2 separate regions of the Homo sapiens genome follow, and region 1 is linked to region 2. The links are contacts of gene promoters, found by promoter capture Hi-C in human tissues and cell types (Jung and others, 2019). All regions are on one chromosome and are shown on one strand. Each heading gives the region's core, a stretch centred on a gene start or on the middle of the fragment in contact. The rest is flanking DNA. Distances are from core to core; before and after follow the strand shown. Region 1 overlaps FAM168A (family with sequence similarity 168 member A). Region 2 holds the start of PLEKHB1 (pleckstrin homology domain containing B1).

Region 1 (3,463 bases), core at 365-2,864, 200 kb after region 2:
GTCTTGAACTCCCGACCTCAGGTGATCCACCCACCTCGGCCTCCCAAAATGTTGGGATTACAGGTGTGAGCCACCGCGGCCAGCCAATATAATCATTTTATGGCTTCTCTTGTTGTTTTACCTTATTTCCAAAACAGTGTATGCTCATTTTAGAAAAAATAGAGAATACTGACATGAGAAGAACATAGAGGAACACTAATAATTGTATATCTGTTTTTCTAGGTCTTTTAAAATGAACATACATACATTGTTTTTCAACAAAAATGAGAGTATATGCTATGTACTGTTGTATAACTCACCTTAATTTACTTAAGGAATTCTAGATTGGGTTTAGATTTGTTTCAGCTAATGCCCTGTTGGTAGACATTTAGGTTGTTTGAACTTTCACTATTAGCTAGTAGCATAAAGCAGAAATAATAGACTGAAATAAATTACAAATAAAAAGGCAAAAATGTGGGGACACTTTCATTTACAATTTTTTAAAGAGGGACAAAAATGTTTTAAAATGCACAAAAGATTGTAAATACACATACTCACAACAGTATACAAAAAATTACCTGTATTCAGAGAATGACTGGTTTACTGTTTCTACAAAAAGCCATGCTGACTAGAAGCTTGCTTTTGTCCAGCTTGTGCTTGGTCAAACAATAATAGGCCTAACCAGCTGGAGCCATGTGAGAGTTGAGGGAAAGGCAGGGTGATAAGGCACATGATTGAGGATCTGGAAGATTTTTCATCAAACAATCTTAAAATCCATGGGCAAACACAATTGTTTCCAACAGGGAACTTTTAATGAAAAGGGCATGGGTGGGAGACTATTATTTACTGAAGTACTTACTGTTCTGTGCCAAGTATTTATGCTAGTTGCTTTGCATGCCATCTTTTATAATTTTCTGGCCTGCAGTATAGGATATCCTTGTGTTCATGAGGATTAGGTAAAGGGACTTTTCTATGATATTATGTCTGGTAAATGGTACAGCTGACTTTTGAATCCACACTGCCTGCCTTCAGAACCCCCGTTCTTCCCACTGGACTATGATGGCTCCTTTAGGATAGCCAGAGGAGGAAATATCTTCTTTTGATTCACAGTAAGAATGTTTAGATGGGTCTCTACGAAGTAAGTTTAGGGCTTGCTCTGAACTTACTCTGGCCTGGCCCTGCTCACCTTCCAAGCCGGCCCACATGCAGATACAGGAGAAGGAAAAAAGGACACTGGTGCTAACATAGAATAGATACTCAAAAATTATTTACCAATAAGTAAGTTAACTGATTGTGTCTATTTTTTAAAATATCAAAACCCAGGCTTTGAAAATTGAAGTGATTTGCCCAAAGTCACAGAGCTAAAAAGTAAAAGAGCTGGAATTTAAACCTAGGTCTGCCTATAAATGAAGCGCCACTGTTGCATAACACTACAGGTTGTCTCAGTTTGACACCTGCTGTCAGTGTCCACAACAGTAGGGAAGGGGACATGACCTGAGCACAGGTAACACTCTATTTAAGGTATCTCCTGTCACTAACTTGGAGTTGCAGCAACCTTTCCAATCCAGAAGCCAGACCAGATTAAAAGTCTTTTCGTCTTTCTTCCCTCTTCTCTCACAACGCTTATATCTCCCTCTGTGATGGCCTTTGTCCCTGGCAGCCTAATATCAGGGTTACTTATGTTCTTGCTTGTCTTTCTCATTAGATGGTGAGTTCACGGAGGGCAAGAATTATGTCTTCCTTTTGCATTCATTATAGCACTTAGCACACATTAAGTGCTCAAATAAGTATTTATTTAGTTAAATTGGCCAAAGTTTGTGCACTTGGCTTATTTTTGAAGGCAGTCGCTCAAGTATTAACATTTAATGTATACATAATTCTAAAAAGCATGGATTTTTGGCTTTCCAGCCTACAACTAATTATAGCACTGGGAAAGGGCTAAGAAAGGTTGTAGGATACAGGCTTTGGGATGATAAAATAAGTATAAAAGTGAACTTTAGCAACCTGAGTGTAAATGTAAACAAAGATGCCTTTAGTTATGTGCTCCTAATTTCCTCCATTTTTAAGGGTGGAAAAAAGGCTTGGCATATATATATATATATATATATATATATATATATATATATATCCTTTGTATATATAAAGGAAAATTCCTGTGGACTCTTCTGTCTCCTCAAGCTGTCACTTCCTCTCCTTTCCTTTACTGTCAGCATCTTTACTCACTCTGTCTCAAAAAAAAAAAAAAGAAAGAAAGAAAGAAAAGAAATAGAAGCCTTGAACAACACTGTACACCACGTATACCCAACAGTCACCTAGAGGGCACTCCAATAATAGAATATAATTCTCAAGAATACATGGAACAATCTTCAGGATAGACAGTGTGCTAGGCCATAAAACAACTCTCAGTACGTATAAAGGATTGAACTCATACCAAAGTATGTTCTGTGACTGCAGTGGAACAAAATTAGAAATCAGTAACAGAAAGAAATTTGAGAAATTCACAGTTACGTGAAAATTAAATGACACATTCCTAAATAACCAGTGGGTCAAAAAAGAAATCACAAGGAAAATGAGAAAATACTTTGAGATGAATGAAACATAACATACCAAAATGTCTGGGAAATTTATAGCTGTAAGTGCTTACATTAAAAAAGAAGAGGCCGGGCGCGGTGGCTCATGCCTGTAATCCCAGCACTTTGGGAGGCTGAGGCAGACGGATCATGAGGTCAGGAGATCGAGACCATCCTGGCTAACACGGCGAAACCCCATCTCTACTAAAAAATACAAAAAATTAGCCGTGCGTGGTGGCGGGCGCCTGTAGTCTCAGCTACTCGGGAGGCTGAGGCAGGAGAATGGCGTGAATCCGGGAGGTGGAGCTTGCAGTGAGCCGAGATTGTGCCATTGCACTCCAGCCTGGGCGACAGAGTGAGACTCCGTCTCAAAAAAAAAAAAAAAAAAGAAGAAGAAAGACCTCAACTCAATAACTGAATCTTTCACCTTAACACACTGCGGGGAAAAAGAGCAAATGAAGCCTAAATCAAGTACAGGAAAGGACATGATAAAGAAATCAGTGAAATAAAATGGAGAAAAACAGAGAAAATCAATAAACCAAAAGTTGGTTATTTTAAAAGACTGGCAAAATCAACAAACCTTTTTAGCTTTAGCTAGGCTGATGAAGAACAAAAGAGAGAAGTCTCCAATTACTAAAATCAAGAATGATACAGAGGACATTACTACAGACTTTTAATAGAAATAAAAAGGAATATGAGGTAAGACCGTGAACAATTGTATGCTAACAAATTAGGCACCTAGGTGAAATAGACAAATTCCTAGAAAGAAAGAAACTGCCAACACCGACTCGTGAAGAAATAGAAAATCTGACTAGACCTATAAGAGAGAATTAGTAATCAAAAAACTTTCCGCAAAGAAAAGCCCAGGACCAGATGGCGTCATTGGTGAGTTCTACCAAATATTTGAGTAAGAA
Region 2 (3,398 bases), core at 1-2,500:
CCGCTCCCTCCCCTCTCCACGGTCTTGACACAGATCAGACAAGAGGGTCAGGTGCAGACTCCTTTTCCAGCCCCTCCCCTTGATGCACCCACCTTGTCTACACTTGTTGCGGATGTTGCTGCCTAAGCGGCCGCTACTCGATGCTGCTGCCACCCAACCCGCTGCGCCTGCGCTTTGTGTGCCCCGGAGAGCCTGGGGCATTTCTCTCCTCCCGCAGCGCCTGAGAGCCCAGCTGCCCCCGGGCCCCGCCCTCCGGACCTGCCCACCCCAGGGAGGGGGAGTGACGTGAAGAGATGCTGACCCGAGGCGTACTGGGACTTGTAGTCTACCCCTGTAGAGCTGGGCAGAAGCAGCCCCGCCTGCAATTTTACTTTTCTATTAAGACATTTGTTCACTCATTTATCATGAAATACTTTTTCTTAAGAATCATTGAACTCAGTTCCTAGAAAAAAAGAAAAAGTAAAGTTGCAAGGAGAAGCCAAGCTCCTAGTTTTGCATGTTTTTTTGATGCTTCCCCTTTCCATCCCCAGCTTCCAGTCTAGTGAGGGAGATTACATGGAAACACACAATTGGAGCACAAGGTGTGATTTAACAATGGAAAAGATGAGCCTGACTTTTCTCAAGGGGTTCAGGAAGGCTTCCCAGAGGAGGCTGAAAGGGGCCTTGGAGGATGAGGGGCAGTTTCCTAGGCGACCCGAAATTTCCCCTATGAATACTGTCAGGATGTTGAAGAGTGCCCAGCATTTCCGTGTGTCTAGAACATAAAGCGCAGGGGTGGGGAGGGCATCGGGAGTGTCAGGCGATAGAGCTGCAGGGTTTGGAAAGAAATAGCACAGAGGCCTTGCATGACAGGCGGAGAGCTTGGATGTTAGGACGCAGTGACTGGAGCTGGGGGTGGGAGTTTCAAGATGAGGAGTGAGGTGTGTGATTAGGGGGTCGGAAAGGCCCCTCTAGGGCACAGTGAAGAATGGACTGGCGGGAGCCCACCTGGAGAAAGGAAGACTTTCTGTATCTATCACCTCGGACTGTGATCATTTCCTTCAATAGCTCAGCCCCGCAAACCCTCACCTACCAGCAGCCACAGGATGTCATTCAGAGACCAGAGGATGTCAGGGCCTAAAAGACTTCTGTCCCGTCCCCTATGTGGCAAGGGTGCCCACCCTGCCCTGGGCCCTTCCTCCTGTCCCAGAGAACTCTTCCTTACCGGGGCTGCAGGGCTCATGGTTCCTGGGTGGCCAGGGCAGCATTTCCCAGAAGGCTCCCGCAGCGGGGCATTTCCCTGAGCGCCTTAGAGATAAGGGGATCAGGAAGGTGCTACCAAGTGGGAGGCTGGAGGGGGAGGCAAGGAGGGAGCGCACAGATCCCAAGGAAGGTCGCCCTCTTTCTCCAGGCTCCTCCCAGCCTTTCCAACTGATGGCTCTGACCCTAGGTTCACTAGACAAGTCATCCCTGATTCAGAAGTGGTCTTGGCTCAGCATCGCCGAGGTTCCCGGAGTGGAATCGGGGCGAGGTTGCGGGGGCAGGACAGGAACCGGGCTGGTCCTCCTCCCTAGGTTGGGGGCGGGGCTACATCTTCATTCTTTGGCCTGGCAGGACAGCGCCCATCACCCCAGTCCTGGCTGCGCAGTCTGGCTCTTTAAGCCTTCCTCTCTTGCTCCTGAGTCTCTGTAATCCTGACCTCGAGCTACCCTCGCTCCTCGGCCCTTTGTGCGGTGCGTGCCCTGCTGAGGGATTCGCCATGGCCAATCCTATTAACCATTGAGTTCATCCCCTCTTAGCCGACTCAAGAACCAGCTCTCCCATACCGCGTTTTCATCTCTGTGCCTTTAACTCACTCTCTGTCTGGTTCCTGGAACGTCCCAGTCCCAGCTTCTCCTAGCTAAATTTTCCACCTCCACAGTGGAAGGAAGAAAGGAAGCAGTGGGAGGGGGAAAGAGGCAAGGAAAGAGATATGGAAGGAAGGAAAGACAGAAGGAGAAAAGAAGGGAGGGGAAAGACGGGAAGGCAGGTAGGTAGGGCTGCAGCTGGCCTCGGAGGATCTGCGCCTGGGTCCTGCCCCGACCCAGCCTCTCTCCAGCTCTCCCTGCTCCCCTCCCCGATGGGCAGTGGGGCATCCTTCATGTTGAGGGGCGGGGACGGTGCAATCATCTCCTAGATTTCATTCTCTGGATTTAGCAACCAGATGAAAAAGGAAGGTTCTCCAGCAGCAGTGGAGACTTCAGGGGAAGACTCTCCCCTACCTCCCAAAGAGCGGGCACTATGACGAAAAAAAGAGGAAAGGACGTGGCAAACTAAAACCACAGACACTACTACCGAATCTAAACGTAGCCGGACTTGGCCCATGTCTCTAAAAGCTGGTCAGTGACCCTCTTTGAGAAGCCAATAAGGAAGTGTAGACTGTCCTCAGGAAAAAATCTGCGTATAATTCCTGGGAGTTCATAGACCTCTGAAGCCATGATAGTCATGGTTGGATTGTTTTTAATTTCCAGAGCTGTGTAGATGGGAGGAGAGTGTAGATTGACGAGTGAGAGGTATGACAGTATGTCAGGAATTCCAGCCGCAGCAGTCCTGGCTGTGAGAGACTTTGTTTGTTCAATCAACTAAAACTTATTGAGACTAATAAGCCAACAAGTAACTTTTACATTTCTTTGTGGCTATGGTGCACAGAACCATTGGCAGAGAGGAAAAGATTTTGCCATTTCAAGTGTCCCTGGTGAATGAACAGCCCACAGATAATACATTGTTTAGGAAATAGTGGACTGGCTCATCAAATTCAAATTTACTACTTACATTTTCTAGAGAGTATAATATAATGAGAATAATTTATATTATCTTTATTTTAAAAAACTTGAAGTTTATATCAAGATGCAATTTGAGCAAAAGTAAAAGTGCTTATGAAAACATTTTAAATGGCCGGGCGCTGTGGCTCATGCCTGTAATCCCAGCACTTTGGGAGGCCAAGGCGGGCAGATCACCTGAGATCGGGAGTTCGAGACCAGCCTGACCAATATGGAGAAACCCCATCTCTACTAAAAATACAAAATTAGCTGGGTGTGGTGGCACATGCCTGTAATCCCAGCTACTAGGGAGGCTGAGGCGGGAGAATTGCTTGAACCGGGAGGCAGAGATTGTGGTGAGCCGAGATTTCACCACTGCACTCCAACCTGGACAACAAGAGCTAAACTCCGTCTCAAAAAAAAAAAAAAAAAAAAAGAAAAGAAAACACTTTAAAGTGATAATTTTACGCTTTTTTTTGTCTTTTTTTTTTTTTCCTTTTTCTGGAGAACGGGGTCTCGCCATATTGCCCAGGCAGGTCTCGAACTCCTGGGCTCAAGCTATCCTCCCGCCTCTTGCCTCCCTGAGAGCGGGATTACAGGCGTGAGCCACTGCGCCCGGCC

What was found. The method cuts DNA at HindIII sites, captures the fragments that hold promoters and counts their contacts. A contact is called where the count stands out against the background at its distance.
Region 1: a contact is called between a fragment that was not itself captured here and the fragment with the promoter of PLEKHB1 in region 2, in 1 of the 25 tissues and cell types used here (mesenchymal stem cells).

Annotation. Positions count from the first base shown.
Region 1 is chr11:73,441,600-73,445,062 of GRCh38, reverse strand. All of the region lies in intron 2 of FAM168A (family with sequence similarity 168 member A), which reads left to right. Among named protein-coding and RNA genes, the nearest start is that of RELT, 67 kb to the right of the region's middle. The HindIII fragment of the contact is 7,363 bases long and covers 1-3,463 here.
Region 2 is chr11:73,644,433-73,647,830 of GRCh38, reverse strand. It overlaps PLEKHB1 (pleckstrin homology domain containing B1), which reads right to left and starts at 1,250. Exons shown (of 8, transcript NM_021200.3): 1 at 1,205-1,250. The coding sequence starts at 1,222. RefSeq lists enhancers at 1-131, 767-1,685 and a silencer at 172-391. The HindIII fragment of the contact is 18,602 bases long and covers 1-3,398 here.